Regions from separate parts of the Homo sapiens genome. Here region 1 is linked to region 2. Evidence: promoter capture Hi-C in human tissues and cell types (Jung and others, 2019). All regions are on one chromosome and are shown on one strand. Each heading gives the region's core, a stretch centred on a gene start or on the middle of the fragment in contact. The rest is flanking DNA. Distances are from core to core; before and after follow the strand shown.

Region 1 (3,684 bases), core at 605-3,104, 100 kb before region 2:
AGCTTAATTTCCATTTAATTTTTTTCCAGAAGATAGTTTTTCTTCAGTCTTTAGAGACTCAGCTCCATGAACAGGCTTTGATGGAGATCATGGGGCAGCATCCTCAGATCTAAATTGGAGCAGAGTTGTTTGGTCCTCTAGGCTTCATGAGAATGATTCCTGACTACCTTGCTGTGAGCGGCAGAACTTGTGCAGTAATACAGTTTCATACACTGTTTGGGAAGCACAGAGACATCAACGACACTCAATTTGGAAATGTCCCTGACAGCTGTACCTTCTACTATATTTCAAATGACAAACTTCTAAATAGCCTTGTCCTTAGGTGTGCATCCAACACAGTTTGTGCAGCAAATAGGTTGTACCTAGCTATGGCCCTTTTTGGCACAACCGTTGTTGTTGTTCCTCCTCCTCCTCTTCTTTCTCTTCCTCCTCCTCCTCTTTTTTTTTTTTTTTTTTTTTTTCTTTTTTGAAATGGGTTCACTCTGTCACTCAGGCTGCAGTGCAGTGGCATGATCATGGCTCACTGCAGCCTCGACCTACCTGGGCCCAGGTGATCCTTCCACTTCGGCCTCCCGAGTAGCTGGGACTACAGGCACACACCAACCATACCCAGCTAATTTTTGTATTCTTTTAGGAATGGAGTTTCACCGTGTTGCTCAGGCTAGTCTTGAACTTTCAGGCTCCAGTGATCCACCTGCCTTGGCTTCCCAAAGTTCTGGGATTATAGGCATGAGTTACCATGCCCAGCCTCCCTTCTTTTCTTTGTTATTTTGGCAGTGAAGACCCAAGAGTGACTCAGGTTTTGTTTAAACATTTATTTAGATTACATAGGTAATTATAACATTTTGTTTTTTTTAAGGAATTTTTTGTTTTGCTTTAAAAAATTTATTTGCAAAAAGATGTAACTCAGAAACTTTAATCATTATAGAAACTACGTAGGAAATGATGAGTTCATGTCCTTTATAGGGACATGGATGAAGCTGGAAACGATCATTCTCAGCAAACTATCGCAAGGACAAAAAACCAAACACCGCATGTTCTCACTCATAGGTGGGAGTTGAACAATGAGAACACATGGGCACAGGAAGGGGAACATCACAAACTGGGGCCTGTTGTGGGGTGGGGGGAGGGGGGAGGGATAGCATTAGGAGATATACCTAATGTTAAATGACGAGTTAATGGGTGCAACACACCAACATGGCACATGTATACAAATGTAACTGACCTGCACATTGTGCACATGTACCCTAAAACTTAAAGTATAATAATAATAAAAAAAAGAAACTACATAGGAAAGCAATTGACTTTTGTACATTAACCTTGGATCCTGCAACCTTGCTGTAATCACTTACTAATTCCAGTCTGTGTGTATGTTTGCCAATTCTTTTGAATTTCCTACATAGGCAGTCATGTCAGATACAAACAGACAGTTTCACTTCTTTCTTCCCCATCTATTTTTTTTTTCTTGTCTTATTGCAGTAACTAGGACTTTCAGTACAGTGTTGAAAAAGCAGTAAGAAAGGATATCGTTGCCTTGTTTCTGATCTTAGTGGGAAAGCTTTGAGTTTCTCACCGTTAAGTATGATGTTAGCTAGAGGTTGTTTGTGGATATTCCTTACCAAATTGAGGAAGTTCTCCTCTATTCCTAGTTTACTGAGAGTTTTTATTGAATGGGTGTTAGATTTTGTCAAATGCTTTCTGTGCATCTATTGATATGGTCATGTGATTTTTCTTCTTTAGCCTGTTGATGTGATGGATTACGTTAACTGGTGTTCAAATGTTGAATGAGTCTTACACACTTGGGATGAGTCCTACTTGGTTATGGTCTGTTTTTCTTTTTATACATTGTTGGATTCATTTTGCTAATATTTTATTGAGGATTTTTGCATCTATGTTTATGAGAGATACTGGTTTATAGTTTTCTTATAATGTCTTTGGTTTTAGTATTAAGGTAATGCTGGCCTCATAGAATGAGTTAGAAAGTATTTACTCCACTCCTGTCCTCTGAAAAAGACTATAGAGAATTGGTAAAATATCTTCCTTAAACATTTGGTGGAGTTCACCAGTGAAGCCATCTGGGCCTATGATTTTGGTTTTAGAAGGCCATTGACTCAAGTTCTTCAATAGATATAGACCTATTCAGAATTTCTGTTTTTTTTCTTGTGTGAGTTTTGGCTCATTGTGTCTTTTAAGGAATTGTTTTTCAAGAAATTTTCACCAAGGTTACCAGATTTGTGGACATAGAGTTGGTCATAGTATTCCTTTATTATCCTTTTATTTGTCCACGGCATCCGTAGTGTTGTCCTTTTCATTTCTGATATTAGCCATTTGTGTCTTTTCTCTTTTGTTCTTAGTTAGCTTGACTAGAAGCTTATCAGTTTTCTTTTCAAAGAACCAGCTTTTGGTTCTATTGATTATTTTCCCCATTGCTTTCTTGTTTTAATTTCATTGATTTCTGCTCTAATTTTTATTATCTCTTTTCTTTTGCTTATTTTTGCTCTTCTCTTTCTGGTGTCCTAAGATAGAAGCTTAGATTGTTTATTTTAAATTGTTCTTTTTTTCTAATGTGTTCAGTGCTATAAATTTTCTTTTTTTATTCTTTCTTTTCTTTCCATTTTTTCTTTTTTGAGACAGGGTCTTGCTCTGTTACCCAGGCTGGACTGCAGTGGCATGAACATAGCCCACTGCAACCTCGACTCCCTGGGCTCAAGTGATCCTTCTGCCTCAGCCTCCCATGTAGCTGGGACTACAGGCACATGCCACAACACCCAGCTAATTTCACTTTTATTTTTTATAGAGATTGGGGTCTCACTATGTTGCCCAGGCTGGTCTCGTATTCTTGGACTCCAGTGATCCTCTTGCCTTGGCCTCCCAAAGTGCTGGGATTACAGGTGTGAGCCACCGCTCCTGGCCTATAAATTTTCTTCTATGCACTGCTTTTGGTGCGGTTCCACAAATTTTGATAAGGTGTGCTTCCTGTTTTTACTTAGTTCCAAATATTTTAAATTTCTCTTTATTTCTTTTTTGACCCATATGTTTTTTAAGAATGTGTTGTTTAGTCTCCATGTATTTGGGGATTTTCCAGTTACCTTTTTGTTATGATTCCTAGTTTAATTCCATTGTGGTATGAGATCAAATATTGTATGATTTTTATTATATTAAATTTGTCAACATGTGTTTTATGGCCCAAAATGTGGTCTTTCTTGGTGAATGTTCCATGTTAGCTTGAGATGAATGTGTATTCAGCTGTTGGTTGAAGTATCTATAGATATAAATGATGTCTAGTTGATTGATGGTGTTGTTGAGTTCAGCTGTGTCCTTACTGATTTTCTGCCTGCTGGATCTGTCTGTTTCAGATGGAGGAATTTTGATATCTCTAACTATAGTAGTATGTTCATCTGTTTCTCTTTGTAGTTCTATCAGCTTTTGCCTCATGTAGTTTGACATTCTCTTGTTAAATGCATACATGTTAAGGATATTATGTCTTCTTGGACATAAGACATAATATCCTTTATCATTTTATCATTATCCCTTTATCATTATATAATATCCTTCTTTATCCCTGACAAATTTACTTGATCTGAAGTCTGCTCTGTCTCAAATTAATATAGCTACTCTAACTTCCTTTAGAAATTAATATAGCTGCTTCAGCTTTCTTTAATGTTAACATGATGTATCTTCCTC
Region 2 (3,728 bases), core at 699-3,198:
ACACAGGTGTCTACTCACTTACGGTTCTCACAGCTGGGATTGGACCACAGAGAAAGAAATAAAAGGCCTCCTGAGGCAATCACCAGCTCCTCTGCATCTAGAATCTGGCTCCAAAATGTTGCCTGCATTTACTTACTGTCTCTGTACTTGTGTCTTCTCTGAAGAACAATGCAAACTTCCAGCTGGGTTAAACCCAATTTAGCACAGCACTGTCCTTTAGATATTTTTAAAAACGTAAAGAGAAATGACCACTGTTCTCACGCTGTAATTTCAAAATGGCAATTTCCCTACTATATACTTGTTAAAAGTGAAAATTTTTTAAAAAGGTAAAAGGAAAAAAAAACCCCACTCAGCTGCTCAGTGAGGCAGAGTTAAAATATTCTGCAGAAACAGCACTTATGAAACAGGCAGAACCCCTGGGGCTACCAATTCATGAACACACAACTGGCAGTACAAGACAGGTGTATTGTCGTAGACTCATCACCCAGAAAAGCATTATTATTTACTTTTAACAATAAACATTTTATGATGGCACTCCGTTTTAGTGATAAATGACTGGGGAAAATAAAAAATGTGTATAGCAGAATCAAATATAGGCCCTCCCCGGGGGTTTCACTGGCTTTCTCTCACAGCTGCTGGCTACATTATTTCTTTTCCACTTACATTTTTACAGCATGGGGTTGGGGCGGGGGGGTGGCTCTTGGTTTTCTGGTTGTACCTGTCAGATTTGTTAATCAAATGAATCCAGTCCTACAAACGATGAGCCTGTGACAGCTGGCCTTTGGGGTTGGATTCTGCCCTGGGCAGCAAAGTGTCCCTTATTTGGGTATTTTTTTCCAGGTTGAAAACTCGGCACTTAAAATTTAGCATCTTACCACTGTGAAATAACAGGCATTCCGAAAGAACTTCGGCATCTGATGCCTTTCCGGGAACACTTGGGCCACTCTCCTTAACCTTTACCGGCAGTTTTAAATACTACAATGCAGGTACAAGCAGAAAAGCCAAGGATGCGGGCTATGCAAAGCCACTCTGTGACTCTACCTACTGCCATGGGAACGTACTTATGGATGTGGCATGTGAGTGTGTGTGTATGTGTGAGTGGGTTTGTGAAAGTGTGTGGATTCGTGCGAATACGTGTGTGAGTGCTTTGTGTGTATTTTTGGATGAATTTGTGAATGTACATGTGTGTTCATCTGTGTGTGTGTTTGATTATCTGCTTATGAGTCTGTATGATTGTGAACGTGTGAGTATATGTGTGCTGTTTGTGTGACTGTATGAGTGTAATGTGTGTATGAATGTATGTTTGAATGTGGGTTTGAGTGAATGTGTGGGTTGTGTGTGAATGTGTGTGTAAGTGAGCATATCACTGCGTGCATGTGTGTAGCTCCTTAAGTGTGTATCTGAATGTGGGTTTTATTTTTGTGCGCGGGAACGCACATTGTGGGTGTATTTGTCTATATGCATTTGTGCGTTGTGACTGTGTGTTGAGTGTGAGCGTTGTGAGAATGTGTATTTGTGTGTCATGAGTGTGTGCGCGTGTGTTTTTGTGCATATGTGCGCGCATTGTGTTTGTGTGCATTTGTGAGTGTATTTTTGTGCGTCTGAGTGTGTGCATTGTGGATCTGGGTGAATGTACTGGTCTGCGTGTGTGTGGGTGTGCGTGTGTGTGTGCGCGCGTTGTGCGCGAGTGTGCGAGCGCGTGTGAGCGGGTGTGTGGTGCGGCCGGGCGCCTCCACCTCCCTGATCCGCCCCATCCCGGCGGGCGCCCGAGCAGAGGCAGCGGCCCGGGCCGGGGCGGGCGAGGGAGGGACGCGAGCCGGGGCAAGCGGGCTGCGCCACCGCCGGCGCCGCGCCGACTTTGCCCTTTAAATCGGTCTCCAAGCCGATTACAGCTGAGCTCCCACGTGACGTTTTACCTTCTGTCTCCCGGAGCGCGTTGCCCGAGGACAGTCCTTCCCCGGCTGCCGCCCCAGCCCGCCGCGGGGGCTCGGCTCCCGCAACTTTGGGCGAAGCGGCGGCCGGCTCGGGCGCCCTCGCGGGGCCGCGCTCCACGCGGGCGTTGGGGGCTTGGGGGGCTCCGGGGGCTCGGCCGGGAGGGTGGTGGTTAGGGCGGAGAGCGTGCCTCGGCCCCAGCCCGCGCCCCTGCCACCGCGCGCCGCGGCCTCCCGAAAGCGGGCGGGGTGCCCTGCGCGCGGCGTGGGGAAAGGGGGCGCCCTTCGCCGGCCGGGACCTGAGCGGTCGCGCCCTCGAGGGAGCCAGCTGGGCCATGGCCGCGAGGCAGGGGTGAGACCGGCGGCCACCCGTGAGCCCTCCGCACCCGCACCATGCAGAAGAGCGTGCGCTACAACGAGGGGCACGCCCTGTACCTGGCCTTTCTGGCGCGCAAGGAGGGCACCAAGCGCGGCTTCCTGAGTAAGAAGACGGCCGAGGCGAGCCGCTGGCACGAGAAGTGGTTCGCCCTCTACCAGAATGTGCTCTTCTACTTCGAGGGCGAGCAGAGCTGCCGCCCGGCGGGCATGTACCTCCTGGAGGGCTGCAGCTGCGAACGAACGCCCGCGCCACCCAGGGCCGGCGCCGGGCAGGGAGGCGTCCGAGACGCGCTGGACAAGCAGGTACCGCGCGCCTTCTCTCCGCGGTCTCCCAGCCTTGATCGCCGCACTCCCTTGCCGTCCTAATCCGGGGATCAGGGGTCGGGGGTCGTGAAAGAGTGCGGGGACTATGCTCCGAAATCCCCCCGCGTCACCAGTGGCGGGACATCTCCACGCTCCTTCCGATCTTCATCCAGGGATTCTCCCATCTCCATACCCCTCCACCCCACTGCCAAGTGATCAGTCAGAATAGTGGCCCGACTTGCTTTCATTACCCTGGTAGAGGTCGAGTCGTTTCAGCTTCTCTGCCAACCATCTATTGCTTCTCTAGACCTGGCTCGCCAGATTTTTGTCTGGTGACATGTATTGACACCTGTTGGGTGTAGATTGGCAAGACGGAACTAACTTATTTGGAAAAGTTTGATTTCTGCCATACCCGGCTGGCGCGTGTAGATTTCTTTGCCTGCAGATGTTTGACCACTGGTTGGGCTGGGAACAAGCGGGGCTCCCAAGCCGGACAGACACTTTCTGTTGGTCATTTTCAATCAGTCTTTGTGATTTCGGTCAGTTGGCCTTGCTAACATTTGACCTGCTGGGTGTAATTATGAAGGTAAATGTGTATTCATATTCCTCAGGATTAATATTTGGTAGCCACATTCTTGCTATGTTTAAAAATGTGGGCATTTTTAAAGAACGCTTCTGTACTTTTAAATGAATGCTTTGAAAATGAATGCGACCTTTTAATTCTGGGTCATAATTTTATTAGTTTTGCTGTGTGCTCATGGTCGCGGGGTGGGGGAGAAAAACCCTTTAAGTCTTAGTGATCCCAGCCCCTCATTCCTGCAAACACAAAGTTTGTATGTTTCCAATCACCGTTTGGTTATTAAAGTTAAAGCAGACTAATTTTATGCCCCTAATGTTCTCATTTAGCTTCTCAATCCCCACCTTGATATGAAAAAGGCTGATTGTTTTTGCTGTTGCGTAAAAATATTCGCAGCTGAATTTTCCATGTGAGTTCAGATCAGACAGCATCTACCGCACACCACAGAGGCTGTGGGAGGTGCTAGCAATGGAGTGATCCGTAAGATGCCTACCTAACCCTTTGGGGCTCATAAAACAATGTGTAAAATTAAGAGGAGT

The links. The method cuts DNA at HindIII sites, captures the fragments that hold promoters and counts their contacts. A contact is called where the count stands out against the background at its distance.
Region 1: a fragment that was not itself captured here is called in contact with the fragment with the promoter of RASGRF2 in region 2 in 2 of the 25 tissues and cell types used here (H1 embryonic stem cells and adrenal gland).

The regions. Positions count from the first base shown.
Region 1 is chr5:80,855,436-80,859,119 of GRCh38, forward strand. The region is part of intron 21 of MSH3 (mutS homolog 3); the gene reads left to right. It also overlaps the pseudogene RPS26P27. Among named protein-coding and RNA genes, the nearest start is that of RASGRF2, 100 kb to the right of the region's middle. The HindIII fragment of the contact is 4,064 bases long and covers 1-3,684 here.
Region 2 is chr5:80,958,415-80,962,142 of GRCh38, forward strand. It overlaps RASGRF2 (Ras protein specific guanine nucleotide releasing factor 2), which reads left to right and starts at 1,949. Exons shown (of 27, transcript NM_006909.3): 1 at 1,949-2,612. The coding sequence starts at 2,325. RASGRF2-AS1 (RASGRF2 antisense RNA 1) reads right to left here and starts at 2,493. Exons shown (of 4, transcript NR_105015.1): 1 at 2,367-2,493. RefSeq lists an enhancer at 2,052-2,773. The HindIII fragment of the contact is 17,436 bases long and covers 1-3,728 here.